Regions from separate parts of the Homo sapiens genome. Here all the other regions are linked to region 5. The links are contacts of gene promoters, found by promoter capture Hi-C in blood cells and fetal thymus (Javierre and others, 2016). All regions are on one chromosome and are shown on one strand. Each heading gives the region's core, a stretch centred on a gene start or on the middle of the fragment in contact. The rest is flanking DNA. Distances are from core to core; before and after follow the strand shown. Region 1 overlaps LOC107985364 (a long non-coding RNA gene). Region 2 has its middle 17 kb from the start of LINC01132. Region 3 overlaps LOC107985365 (a long non-coding RNA gene). Region 4 overlaps LOC124904557 (a long non-coding RNA gene). Region 5 holds the start of IRF2BP2 (interferon regulatory factor 2 binding protein 2).

The links. The method cuts DNA at HindIII sites, captures the fragments that hold promoters and counts their contacts. A CHiCAGO score of 5 or more calls a contact.
Region 1: a contact is called between a fragment that was not itself captured here and the fragment with the promoter of IRF2BP2 in region 5, in 2 of 17 cell types (total CD8 T cells and naive CD8 T cells). The highest score is 9.9, in total CD8 T cells.
Region 2: a contact is called between a fragment that was not itself captured here and the fragment with the promoter of IRF2BP2 in region 5, in 11 of 17 cell types (erythroblasts, megakaryocytes, activated CD4 T cells and 8 more). The highest score is 8.5, in erythroblasts.
Region 3: a contact is called between a fragment that was not itself captured here and the fragment with the promoter of IRF2BP2 in region 5, in 11 of 17 cell types (M2 macrophages, M0 macrophages, M1 macrophages and 8 more). The highest score is 20.4, in M2 macrophages.
Region 4: a contact is called between a fragment that was not itself captured here and the fragment with the promoter of IRF2BP2 in region 5, in 1 of 17 cell types (monocytes). The highest score is 5.4, in monocytes.

What each region holds. Positions count from the first base shown.
Region 1 is chr1:234,760,157-234,762,856 of GRCh38, reverse strand. All of the region lies in intron 1 of LOC107985364 (a long non-coding RNA gene), which reads right to left. Among named protein-coding and RNA genes, the nearest start is that of LINC02961, 1.5 kb to the right of the region's middle. RefSeq lists enhancers at 1,122-1,699, 1,700-2,279. The HindIII fragment of the contact is 3,834 bases long and covers 1-2,700 here.
Region 2 is chr1:234,740,173-234,742,872 of GRCh38, reverse strand. No RefSeq gene overlaps it. Among named protein-coding and RNA genes, the nearest start is that of LINC01132, 17 kb to the right of the region's middle. The HindIII fragment of the contact is 555 bases long and covers 1,017-1,571 here.
Region 3 is chr1:234,851,173-234,853,876 of GRCh38, reverse strand. The region is part of intron 2 of LOC107985365 (a long non-coding RNA gene); the gene reads left to right. Among named protein-coding and RNA genes, the nearest start is that of LINC02961, 92 kb to the right of the region's middle. RefSeq lists an enhancer at 2,041-2,335. The HindIII fragment of the contact is 4,019 bases long and covers 1-2,704 here.
Region 4 is chr1:234,781,648-234,784,416 of GRCh38, reverse strand. The region is part of intron 1 of LOC124904557 (a long non-coding RNA gene); the gene reads left to right. Among named protein-coding and RNA genes, the nearest start is that of LINC02961, 23 kb to the right of the region's middle. The HindIII fragment of the contact is 5,487 bases long and covers 1-2,769 here.
Region 5 is chr1:234,608,928-234,611,704 of GRCh38, reverse strand. IRF2BP2 (interferon regulatory factor 2 binding protein 2) reads left to right here and starts at 1,527. Exons shown (of 2, transcript NM_182972.3): 1 at 1,527-2,777. The coding sequence starts at 2,211. RefSeq lists silencers at 303-902, 1,383-1,572, 1,633-1,732, 2,113-2,192, 2,433-2,712 and enhancers at 1,153-1,252, 1,355-2,052. The HindIII fragment of the contact is 9,061 bases long and covers 1-2,777 here.

The DNA of each region.
Region 1 (2,700 bases), core at 195-2,694, 150 kb before region 5:
TCTTGTCATATTGAAGTGGCTTTGGACATTTTTGGGATCTGGCTAAGTGAAAATTAAGTCGGGGAGATATTTATTTTGAATTTGGTGGAACATTGATGCAATTTGCAGTCTCTTCAGCCTGTATGAAGCTATCGCCAGCTGTTCTGATGTAGAAGTGGCTTGCAGGGACAACCTTCAGCCCCCTGTGCTGGCTCTTGTGGCATTTCCACAGGGAGGACAGGGCCTGAGGTCATATCCCAGCATAAACATGTCCTGTGGCCCGTGTCCCCAGAGCCAGGCTGATAGGAAAGTGGAAACAGGATTTACAATGTGTGGTGCCAGAGTCTAGTCTTCGGAGAGTTTTTCAGTTATCAGATGTATAAAATGGTAAGGAGAAGATGCTGTTTCCATTGACACCTAGTCAAAATGGAAATTCTTTGCTGGCAAGAATGTGCCCGATACAATAGCAAAGACTTGGAACCAACCCAAATGTCCATCAGTGATAGACTGGGTTAAGAAAATGTGGCACATAGACACCATGGAATACTATGCAGCCATAAAAAAGGATGAGTTCATGCCCTTTGTAGGGACATGGATGAAGCTGGAAACCATCATTCTCAGCAAACTATCACAAGGACAAAAAACCAAGCACCACATGTTCTCACTCATAGGTGGGAATCGAACAATGAGAACACCTGGACACAGGGTGGGGAACATCACACACCGGGGCCTGTTGTGGGGTCGGGGGAGGGATAGCATTAGGAGATATACCTAATGTAAATGACGAGTTAATGGGTGCAGCACACCAACATAGCACATGTACACATATGTAACAAACCTGCACGTTGTGCACATGTACCCTAGAACTTAAAGTATAATAAAAAAACAATAAAATAAATAAAAATAAAAATAATTGGCCGATTCTTCTATAATTGTTGGTGCTAAAATGACCAGACCAAATAAATTAGTTCACTTCAGTAACCTTAAAAAAAAAAAAAGGAATGTGCCCGATAATGCAGACGATACAATTACGAGTGCATGGAACAGACTTCGGGAGGCGAGGAGGCGATAGGGCGGCCCGAGGCTGATTGAGACACTGGTGGCTGTGGAACGCTTAGAGGGGTTGTTGCTGTGTGGTTGTGAGTGTGCATGCCTTTGTGTTGGAACACACCATCCTAACATTTTGTGTGTGTGTGTGTTCATGCTATACTACATACATATGTAGTATGCTATACTACATACATATAGAGTATGCTATACTACATACATATAGAGTATGCTATATTACACACATATAGTTATGATTATCTAGTTGCATAACATACTAAACTGTTATGAATCATAGTCCACAACAACGAAGAAGTCAAAGGAAGCCCAGTGGCTTGTTTGTCACAGAAAGTGTAGAATTTGGGATTTTCATTTCAATCCATTGACAAGCAGGGTTTCCATGCCCTGTGTGCACAGTTCAAGGAACAGTTTGCTCTTACCTGGGTATCAGGAAGGGGCTCCTAGCCAGGGCAATCAGAGAGTCACTCTTGCTGACTGCCCCAGCTGACAGCCCTTCTCCTGCCCCAGTAATGTCTGGCGAACCATGAGACAGGGGAACAGGAATGGGTTTGCTCAGAACTCTTGAAAGAGGCCATGGGACTTGGGCACACCCAAAGGAGCAAGAAGCAAGCAGCACCCAAAATACGCATTGACCCAAAGGCCGATCTTCTGACACATCCACACACGTCTCATCACACATGCAGGGAAACCGTGTCATGTCCGAACTCCAGAACTCCAAACCTCTCATAGTAGTCAGGAGAACACTGGGATGAGTTTAGCTTTTGAGAACTATAAATGTGCCCAAGTGTTGGTTTGGCTAGCAGACTGGAAAATTCTTAGGGTTAAAATTCAAATAAGAATAATATAGCATTGCTAGTCATGACTACAGTATTTACTTAAATTATGCTCTCAGATCTCTATGAAGACAATCCAAAACATAATTAATACTTTTTTTTTTCGCTACAGAGGATAAGTTTTGATTGTACACACACACACACACACACACACATACACACACGATAATATCTATACATATATTTGCCATGCAGAAGTAATGGAAAAGTGAAGGGTATTCCCGAGTTGGCAGCAAATGCCCAGAGTGGGTGAAACTGATGCCCGTGCTCTAGGCCCGGGGAGCCTCTGAGCAACCTGCACTGTGGTGCCCTGGCCTGAGCGTGTGCTCAAAGGCCTGCTCCGCCTCTCCATGACCTAGTAAAGCATGGTGGCCTCCTCCCTTCCTGCCCAAAGCATTAGAATGTCAAGCTCCAGTCCTTGAATGCCATTCTCTCCCTTCCCCCTCAATCCTCCCAGCTCCCCCTCCCCCACTTCCTGTTTGTTTTAAAGAATGGGCACCCAGCATTCCCCCTGCTTCTCATTGGGAAGGAAGGCAGAGGCACGGGAGAGATCTGGGTGGTTGTGGAACAGGAATGGAACTTCAACAGAGTAATGAGGCAGGAAGGGAAAGGGCATGTTGGGGGGTGCAAGAGCTGGGACTTGATAATCTCTGTGAGTCCTGGAAAGAAGAGCGTTTGCTTTGAGGGGTGATTGCCTTTCATGGACTTCTTGGGGGTGGCGGCCTTTTGATCTGCGATGCTGCTCCGTCCAGCCCTGGGCACAGAGTTAGCCATTTCTCCAGTGCATGCAGCTTCTGCACTGGATCAGCGCAGAACCTCG
Region 2 (2,700 bases), core at 45-2,544, 130 kb before region 5:
GACACCTCACATCCCTGGCTGGAGATCTCCCAAGATCTGAATTGACGGGTTTCATTTCCATGCATCTCAAAGTAGACATACTAAACGGAAGTGCACGGGGTGGCTTGGGCTCAGAGAGGACGGGCTGCGGGCGGTGACCTACCTAAAATTCTTGCTCCAATTATTGAAATATAGCCACGTCGTTTTTCTGAGACTTGTGATAATTAGCCAAGAAATTTGCTGACACTTAAAAGTAAATTTGGTATGAGCAGGTATTACAGAAAAACAATTCTACTGCCCATTCCTTCTTTTTTTTTTTTTTTTTTTGAGACTGAGTCTCGCTCCGTTCTGTTGCCCAGGCTGGAGTGCAGTGGCCTGATCTTGGCTCACTGCAAGCTCCGCCTCCCGGTTCACGCCATTCGCCTGCCTCAGCCTCCCGAGTGGCTGGGACTATAGGCGCCCGTCACTACGCCTGGCTAATTTTTTGTTATTTTTAGTAGAGACGGGGTTTCACCGTGTTAGCCACGATGGTGTCGATCTTCTGACCTCATGATCCGCCTGCATCGGCCTCCCAAAGTGCTGGGATTACAGGCGAGATCCACCGCGCCCAGCCTCTACTGCCCATTCCTTCTTAATTCACAGAAGAATTACCGATAATCTACTTTTTGGCTCTCTGGTTAATTTCTGGTTAACTGTTAAGTACCAAGAGTTTTGGTAACCTAATGTGAAATTAATCAAGCTTTTTATTTCCAGGCCTGTATGTGAGATTTGACTTGTCCTTCCAGATAAGGTATTTACGTTCATTTTAACATAGGTTTCTTTGCATGTATTTACCCAGTCCTTGATTATCTGGAACAAAAATTACTAATCCTATACTGGCTTCCTCTCTTGCTTCTGGGTGACTTCCCTCCTTTCTCCTGCCCATCCCAGTCAGGAATTTCTGTGGTACTGAATATACCATGGCACTTATTCCATGACGTGTCTTACGGGAAACAAGAAGATTGATACCCATTTTTGTTGCCCTGATGAATGAAGCTTACATCTGAAATCTCTTTTTAAAAATTTTTTAAACATTTTTTATTTTAATGCTTCAAATTTTTTATGGTAACATGGGCTGAAACACCTGAAATCTTGTCTTACTTGTTTACAGATGTTCTAAAATATTTCCGATACTCATAATAGATCCAAGGACTTTCTTGACATCTCCAGGAAGCTAATGAACATCTGCAACTCAACATGCCCGAAACTGGGCTCCCTATTCCCCTAGGCTGCCTCCCACCAAACCTGTTCCAGCCACAGCCTTCCTATCTCAGCTGGGAGCATTTCATTCTCCTAGTGGCTCAGGCCCCAAACCTCAGAGTCATCCTTGACTTCTTTCTTTTTTACTCCACATCCAAACTGTCAGGAAATCCCACTTATTCCCACAAAATATATCCAGCTCCACTGTTGTCACTCTGAGCCACTGCCATTTTTTGCCCCTGGATGACAACTGTGACCTCCGATAGGTCTGCATCTACCTTCAACCCACCAGCCAGAGTGATTCTTTGCAAATGTAAGGTAGTGCTACACCTGCTCGGGACCCTACAGAAGCTTCTGGCTCACCCAGAGAAGAGCAGAAATCATTACACCCACCTCCACCATCTCTCCAATCTTATGACCTACCACCTGCCCAGTTTGACTCCAGTTCAGCAGTACTGGCCTCCTTGCGATTCCTCCAAAAAGCCAGACATGCTACCACTGTAGGGCCTTTGCCCTACTTCTTTCTCTCTTTCTTTCTCTCTTTCTTTCTTTCTTTCTTTCTTTCTTTCTTTCTTTCTTTCTTTCTCTCTCTTTCTTTCTCTCTTTCTTCCTTTCTCTCTTTCTTCCTTTCTTTTTCTTTCTTTTTCTCTTTCTCTCTTTCTTTCTCTTTCTTCTTCCTTCCTTTCCTTTTTTTTTTTTTTTTTTTAGTGCAGTTTTGCTCTTGTCGCTCAGGCTGGAGTGCAATGGTCTGATCTCGGCTCACTGTAACCCCCGCCTCCCAGGTTCAAGTGGTTCTCCTGCCTCAGCCTCCCAAGTACCTGGGATTATAGGCATGCACCACCACTCTTAGCTAATTTTGTATTTTTAGTAGAGATGGGGTTTCGCCATGTTGGCCAGGCTGGTCTTGAGCTCCTGACCTCAGGTGATCCACCTGCCTCAGCCTCCCAAAGTGCTGGGATTACAGGTGTGAGCCACCGCGCCTTGACCCTACTTGTTCTTTCTGTCTGCAACATTCTTCGCCCTGATAGGGCTCTGGCCACTCCTCCCCTCCCAGTGCCTGCTCAGACCTCACTGCTCAATGCCCACCCTGACCTTTGTTGAACTTACCTGCAATACTGACCCCATCTGCTTGGCCTTAGCATCCCTGGTCTCCCTTCTCTCACTCTGTTTTTTGTTTGTTTATGTTCTTTTTTTTTGTTTTGAGATGGAGTCTCGCTCTGTTGCCCAGGCTGGAGTGCAGTGGCGTGATCTCGGCTCACTGCAAGCTCCACCTCCCGGCTTCACGCCATTCTCCTGCCTCAGCCTACCAAGTAGCTGGAACTACAGGCGTGTGCCACCACACCTGCCTAAGTTTTTGTATTTTTTAGTATAGACAGGGTTTCACCGGGTTAGTCAGGTTGGTGTCAATCTCCTGACCTCTTGATCCACCTGCCTCAGCCTCCCAGAGTGCTGGGATTACAGGCGTGAGCTACCGCGCCCGGC
Region 3 (2,704 bases), core at 172-2,671, 240 kb before region 5:
TGCTCGGGAGGCTGAGGCAGGAGAATTGCTTGAACCCAGGAGGCAGAGGTTGCAGTGAGCTGAGATCATGCCACTGCACTCCAGCCTGGGTGACAGAGCGAGACTCTGTCTCAAAAAAAAAAAAAAAAAGAAACTTAATTTGTTTTGGCCAAGGAAAACAGGGCTTTAAGCACCCTTAAATCAGATTTGCTCTTTTATAATTGTTTTGTCAAAGGGACTTCTCTGCTTTCATTCTCAGCCACCTCTGTCTTTGTCAAGTGGCTCACGCCTGTAATCCCAGCATTTTGGGAGGCCAATGCAGGTGGATCAGGAGGTTAGGAGTTGAAGACCAGCCTGGCCAATATGGTGAAACCCCATCTCTACTAAAAATAAAAAATTAGCCGGGCGTGGTGGTGTGCGCCTGTAGTCCCAGCTAGTCAGGAGGCTGAGGGAGAAGATATACTTGAACCTGGGAGGTGGAGCTTGCAGTGAGCTGCACTCCAGCCTGAGCAACAAAGTGAGACTCCGTTCCCCCCAAAAAATTTTACTGATGAAACTTGGGCCAAAGGCTTGGGCATGGACTTCCCAGGGTAGGGAAAGAGGGAACAGGCAGGGTTATATTTACTCTTATTTCCCTTGTTAAGGCAAGGATGCTTAATTTTAGTGGTGATGACGATAAAAATGATGTTAACTAGCATTCACTGAACATTTGTTACGTGCTTGGCATGGTACTAAGCACTTTGCGTGCATTATCTCACACAATTCTCCCAACAGCTCTACAAAATACACTCTATTCCCCCACCCCGAATTTTATATATGAAGGTGTGAAAGGAAAATAAATCTCAGGACCGCAAAATCACTAATCCAAGGGAAAAGTCAAGCCGGGAACTGCGTCAGGCAAACCTGCCTCCCATTCTATTCCTAAATAAGATAGCTACAAAGATAAAAAAGCTACAGATCCCTTTCACAATTTGCCCACCAGGAAATTCCTTGTGGTCTGCAAGATCTTTACCCTAAAATGGTTCTGTTGAATTACCTGACAATGTAAATGGATAGCTTATCTTCATGGGTGCAGGACAAAGGACAGAACTCAAAGTCATCCCTCTGCTCACCTGAGACAAAAGCATATCTGATTGTTTTTTTCTGATGTAAAAATGAAGGCATAAGTGAATATTCCTCCACCCCCTCACATGTAAATTGTCTATTTAATGAAAAGCTGAACAAAGACTCAAAAGAATGCAAAGTTTGTCTCTTACCTACCCACACCTTTAAAAAATTTCTTCCTTTTCTTCCAATATCTGCCCTTTCCCCTTTAAATAAGCCTTCAAAATCATCTTTGGAGAAAGGCACAGACCTTCCTCCAGGGCATGTGTCCTTAACCTTGGTAAAATAAACTTCCTAAATTGGTTGAGATTCCTCTCAGATATTTTTTGGTTTACAGAGCAAACCGAGGTTTAAAGATGCTGCGGTAGCATGCCCAAAGATCTATCTTAACTGGGGACACAGAAGCAGACTCTCAGATGAGGATTTGTGTGCAGGAGATTTGTAAGGAAGGGCTCCCTGGAGGAACCTGGTAAAAGAGTTGGGGAAGCTGGTCTGGGAAGGGGCCAGGGATGATCTCAGAGGGTGGCTTACACCTGATTCTGCAAGCAGGGATGGCTGCAGGGCCGTGCGCCTGTGCAGTCACACGGGCCCCACACTTAGGCCTTACACTTGGGTTGATGCTCTGCTGTTGTTGCTGTCTTGAAATTCTTCATACTGTTTGAACAAGGGATCTGCTTTTTCATTTTGCACTGGGTCTTGCAAATTCTGTAGGGAGTCCTGTCCCCAGGGCAGCTCTAAAGTATAAGTGCCTCAGAGCTGCCCCACCCAAGGCAAGGAGCTGGGGCTGCATGCTCTCATCATCAGCCATTCATTGGTCATCTGTTAAGGGCTGCCCCAGGGGGACATATGTTCCTGCAGGCTATAGGTTCCTTCTCTGTGCAAGCAAAGCAGCTGTACTACTCTGCAGGCAATACTGCTGATAAAGAGCTGCAGGTGATGGCTGTTGAAAGTGAAAACATTCTTAGGGGCCTCAGGATTCAAACCTGGGGCTGGAGTTTCTAACCCCTCTTCCTGCCAGAGGTCATGTGCTTCCCTGCCCTGCAGTGACGGTGGCTTCAGTTCCGCTATGAGTCCTGGAGTCCTCGGGCTCCTCCTTCCCTTCTTTTTGTCCACTGCTTCTGATTGTGGATAAAAGGGGAAGTGAAAGAATGATAAGGAAGATTGGGCAGTGGTGCAAACTGCTAGGAAAACCATGATTCACCTTCCTGGAGACAGTCCCTCTGGCCTGGGTGGGCCACCCACCGATCCATGATGATGTCGCCATGCCAATCATGCCAGTTCAGCCTTCCCTTCAGATGTGTAGTCCTCAAGTGTTTTCTAACAAAACACACATATATATGTTTTTCTACTTTGTCATCTCCTGTGAATTTCTAAGAAAATGTAATTCTTTTTTTTTTTTTTTGGACAGGGTTTTGCTCTGTTACCCAGGCTGGAGTGCAGTGGCATGATTGTGGCTCACTGTAGCCTCTGGCTCCTGGGCTCCAGCCATCCTTTGGCTTCAGCCTCCTGAGTACTTGGGACCACAGGTGCACCCAACCACACTTGGCTTTTATTTTAATTAAAAAATTTTTTAAATTATTTACTTATTTATTTATTTTGAGATGGCGTCTGGCTCTATTAC
Region 4 (2,769 bases), core at 131-2,630, 170 kb before region 5:
TCCCCTTACTCCTAATCCTTGGGAAGCTGTAATACACAGGTGGTAAAGGGGACTCCCCAAGAGATGCTCACTAGGACTGCTGTGAGCCAGATACTGGGCTGACACTGCATAGCACCGAGGGTGTGGGAGACCAGAAGTCAGGAGCCTGCATTCTCAGGGGAGGGACTGGATCCCTGCAAGGAAACAAAGTGTGGTGTGTGTGGCTTCATGATCCACTGGCCTAGGTCTAATAGCGGATCTTTTTGCAAATTTATTTTTTTCTTTTCTTTTCTTTTCTTTCTTTTCTTTTCTTTTTTCTTTTCTTTTCTTTTCTTTTCTTTTCTTTTCTTTTCTTTCTTCCTTCCTTCCTTCCTTCTTTCCTTCCTTCCCTTCTTTTTTCTTTCTTTCTTTCCTTGCTTTTTTTTTTTTTTTGATGGAGTTTTGGTCTTGTCACCCAGGCTGGAGTGCAGTGGTGTGATCTTGGCTCACTGCAACCTCTGCCTCCCGGGTTCAAGCGATTCTCCTGTCTCAGTCTCCTGAGTAGTGGGGACTACAGGCAGGCAACACCAAGCCTGGCTAATTTTGTATATTTGGTAGAGACAGGGTTTCACCATGTTGGCCAGGCTGGTCTCAAACTCCTGACTTCAGGTGATCCTGACCTTGGCTTCCCAAAGTGCTAGGATTCCAGGCGTGAGCCACCGCACCTGGCTTGCAAATTTCTATTTCTAATTGAGCCAGCATTTCTTCCCAAAGGTTCACTGGAAAATCACTGACATGAAGAAGATTGATTAATAGGAAAAAAGGCATACACATTTATTTAATGTGTATACACAGGAGCCTTCAGAATGAAGACCCAAAGATAGAGGGGAAATTGTCCACTTTTACACTTAGGTTCAAGACAGTATGGATAGTCACATAGAAATATGACTGGACAAAAAGGGTCTGATGGAATGCTAGACTAGACTGAGTAGAAAGCGCAGCAAGGCCTGTCTGCCTAGATTCTTCCAGGCATCCATGCCGCATTCCTTCCTTCTGGGTATGGGACAGGATCCTTTCTGGAGTGGGGGTCTTATGACCTACAGTCAAATAAGATAGGTTAGATGAGGTCTTTATGGCCAGTTTTTACACAGAAAGGTGGAAGGAAAGCTAGAGTTGTATTTTAGGTTTTATGGCTGGCTTTGGGGAAAAGGGGTTCTGGTTTTTATATCCGCCTTGGGGAAGAGGGATTCTGGTTTCTATGGCTGGCCTCGGGGAGAATGAGGGGCAAGAGATAGGAGGGCAGGAGAAGATCAGAGAAAAACTTTTGCTTCTGAGGCTAAGCCTTCCTTTTGGGGTATTGTTTTCTGAGTCCCAACACTTGTTATTTGGAACAACTCATTAGAATGTAGGGACTGGGGCTATGTCATGTATTAACATCTCCCAGGGAGCTGTCAGCCTCCCTCAGCAAATGCTTCCTGAATGCATGAATGAACCAATGAGTGTTGGCCATGCAAAGTCAGTAGTTTTCTGCCAACCCCATGAGTTCCACCAGTCGTCTCCAGAGATTCCTTGCAAAGAACTTGGTACTGGGGCATGTACTTATAATGTCTCCTTCTTTTTCCTTCTATTCTATCATCCTGTGTCTTGTCCAGCCTCCAGGAGTTCAGTGAGAAAGGAAACACACACACACACACTACAAAAACCAGGAGAAAAAAACCATTAAAAAATCCCACTGTAGGAAGATTCTGCTGCCTCTAGACTTTAGGAAAGCCGCTGACCTAATTCATTTGCTATGGTGGCTTTTTCATCCTCAGGACTGGTGCTGCCTGTGTAGTTCAGCCTGTGAAGGCTCCCTTTCAAGTAGGCCAGCTGCATGGTATTCTGGACTTACAATGTGCAGGGCAGATGTAGTGTCCCCTTGAAATACACTTAACGGTGGGCAACAAAATCCAAAAGCAAACCCCCACAAATATCTAACTTAAAAAAAAAGAACTTTCTAGATCTCAGTCCTCATCTGGATACTTCATTAGGATCCTGAGACATCTGGGGACCAGCGATGGAAAGAAGGAAAGAGACTTCCATATGTTGAGAGCCTATTATATGCCTGCATTGTGCTAAGCCCTTTCCCATATGTTATCCAATGTAATCCCCCACAAAAGCCCTGCCAGAGTGGAATTATTCTTCTCATTTTACAAATAAGAAAACAGTAGCTCGGAGATGCTAAGTTACTCGCCCAAGGTCACATAGACGGTAAGTGGTAGATGCTGATTTGAATCCAGACAGTGTCATTATCAAGGGGTGGTTTGGGAGGCTTTCGTTGTAACCATCATCTGTAGCAGCCCCCTTCTCCACAATTATCCCAAATAAACACACAATCTAAGTCGGAAGAGCCTACAGGAGGCAAAAATGTAGCTTCAATATGTGCTTCCCTGTCATCTCCCTTTCATTGAGATTATTGCTGCCCCAAATCCTGTCTACACAGACATTCTGGAGTCCGTACTAAATCAAGATTTGTCTGGCTGCAAAGACCATGTTCTGTCCAACACAACCAGGATGCCTCTTCTCTTAGATTCCTACCAAGAAGACCTTGCTTCTTGAAACCCTTACCTAGAAGAGCCAATGAATCAGTGTAGGATTTCCCTAATGGTGGCTGGCACCATAGGTTCCAAAATGTCACCACCAGCTCTAAGTCATCAGCCCTTTAAACGCCTCCACACATCCCGGGGTATACTGACGCGAGGAGTCACAGTGGGTAAGCATCACTAGGTTGCAGAAGCACTGGGCTAATGGTGTGGATGAGGGTTTCAATTT
Region 5 (2,777 bases), core at 278-2,777:
ACCTGGTATTTTCAATAGCAACGACTAGAGAGAAACGTCAGCATGATTTTTTTTTTCTCTCCACCTACCAATCCAGTTGTAGGAAAGATAATATAATTAGTACCCTGTTCTTCCCACACTTAACCAGCTCATTCCAGTCTCAAGGGAGAGTTGTGGGCCTGTGTTCCCAACAAAAGCAGCTCCAGAGGCCGCCCTTAAAGAGCTTAAGTGTAAAAGTCCCAATTGAAGAGCGACTAAGCCTACGTGTATTAGGGAGACTAACGACCAGCCCAAAGTGATTTACCATAACACACACTAGCTCCTCCTCCCGATAAAAGTGCGAAACTCAAACATTCAATTCAGTCTGGGCTGAGTCTGAGGCTGCCAACGGTGGCAGACCTGCAGGCCGGGCTCATCCCGGCCTGGGTGGCATATAGGGCAAAAGTCCGCCTCCGTCGGCGGCCCGCCCTGCGGGACGGCGGGCCAGCCAGCCAGCCGGTCGCCCCCACGGCCCTCGGGAACCTCGCGGAGGCGAGCAGGACCCCCCCCCCCCCCACTCGCGCCCTCGCCTCCCGCCACCTCGAGTCCAAGTTCGGGCCCGGGGGCGGCGCCTCGACGCCCAGACTCGCCGAAGGGGGTGGAGCCTGCGCTGTGACGCGGCCGCGCTGGCCGTAGACCCCGGATCCCTGGAATGTGCATTCGTTCCACGAGGCCCTAGTGCCAGCGGCGCCGAGGCACGTCTGCGCGGAGCGTGCGCACTCGCGGCGGCGGCCGCCCACGGCCCCGCGCCCACGTCACGCGCCCGCCGCGCATACCTACATAAGGCAGCCGGGGCGACTGGCGCGGCGAGGCCCCCGATGAACAGGGCGGGCTGGACGGGGCTAAGAGCGGCACTTGGTGTTCGGGAGAGGCTAGTCCGAACCGCGCTCCCTCCCCTCCAGAGGGCTCCGTGGAAAACGCGCGAGCCAGCTGGCGGCGTGTGCACGTGGTGCTGGGCTTGGGAATATTCACAGTCTCCCTAGTTAGTAAAAGGGACAGGCGGGGCGTATGTCCTTTCCAAGACAAATGCAAAGCACCAGTGACGGATTTCATGCTATGTGTCCGACATTGAGCTTTCAAGTATAACTCCTAAAAAACCAGAACTGTGAACCACGCTAGACCTAAATTCCCCATTCTCAGGAGACTGACGGAAACCAAGTGACAAAGTGTCCTTGCATAAAAGAAAAAAAATGATTTTTAGCACGATTTGGCCCAGAGGCACACCAGAGGAAAACATCCTGAGGGTGGTCGGGACAGCCGGGTGGGGCGCGAAGTGAGGGAAAGTGGAGGAAAAGCACTCGATCACTTTGCGCGGTGTTCCGAAGGGAACACCGGCGCTGCGCTGCTGCGCTGCCCCGCGGGCGGGCGGGCGCCGCGTAGCCGGCTCTCCCGGCAGCGCTCCTTCGGCGCGCGGGGGGAGGGGGAGCGCGCGCGCGGGAGGGCGGGCACGCGCACGAGGGGAGGGGGCCCGCGCAGGCGCCGTGCGAGACTGTCGAAGAATCAAGTCTGTAGAAGTGGAGCGGTCGCGGCGGCAGCAGCAGCAGCGACGGTGGCGGCGGCGGAGCTGAGGCGGGCTGGCCGCTGACGCTGGCGCTGGAGAGCGGCGACGCCAGGAGCTGTGAGAGAGCGGCGGAGCGACCCGGGGCCCGCGCCGCGCCCGAGCTCCACGCCGCCCGGCCGCCGCCACCCCGGCGCGGCATGCCCCGCCGCTCGGGCTGAGCCTGCCCCGGCGGCCGCCCCCCGCCCCCTGCCCCCCCGGCCTCCCCGCCCCCCGCCCCGCACTCCGTGCCGGCCGCCGCCGCGACCTGCTGCGCTCCCCCGCGCCCGCGCGGCCCGTCTTCGCCCCGGTCTGGAGGCCCGCCGCGGCTCCGGCCGAGCCCCCACCGCCGCGCCCGCCGCCCCGCCGCGCCGCGCCGCCCGCCCGTGCCCGGGCCGGCCGGGGGGAACTGCTGCCGCGGCTGCAGCCCCTCACCTCGCGCCCGCCGCCCCTCGTGCACCGGGGGCGCTGCGCGGGCGCCGAGCCTTCGCGGGCTTTGCCGCCGCCGCCGCCGCCTTTGCGGCCGCCGCCGCCGCTGGTGGGGGAGACGCGGGGTTGGGGGGGGAGGAGGGCGCGCGTGGTGCCGGTGGGGGGCGGCGGCGGCGCCCCCTCCTCCTCCTCCGCCTCCTCCTCCGGCGTCGCGGGCTCCTCGGACATGGCCGCGGCGGTGGCGGTGGCGGCCGCGTCCCGGCGGCAGTCGTGCTACCTGTGTGACCTGCCCCGCATGCCCTGGGCCATGATCTGGGACTTCACCGAACCCGTCTGCCGCGGCTGCGTCAACTACGAGGGCGCCGACCGCGTCGAGTTCGTCATCGAGACGGCGCGGCAGCTCAAGCGGGCGCACGGCTGCTTCCCGGAGGGTCGCTCCCCACCCGGCGCCGCGGCCTCGGCCGCCGCCAAGCCGCCGCCGCTCTCCGCCAAGGACATCCTTTTGCAGCAGCAGCAGCAGCTTGGCCACGGCGGCCCCGAGGCGGCCCCGCGCGCGCCGCAGGCCTTGGAGCGCTACCCGTTGGCGGCCGCGGCCGAGAGGCCCCCGCGCCTCGGCTCTGACTTCGGCAGCAGCCGCCCGGCAGCGAGCCTGGCCCAGCCGCCGACGCCGCAGCCGCCGCCCGTGAACGGCATCCTGGTGCCCAACGGCTTCTCCAAGCTAGAGGAGCCGCCCGAGCTGAATCGCCAGAGCCCGAACCCGCGGCGCGGCCACGCGGTGCCGCCCACCCTGGTG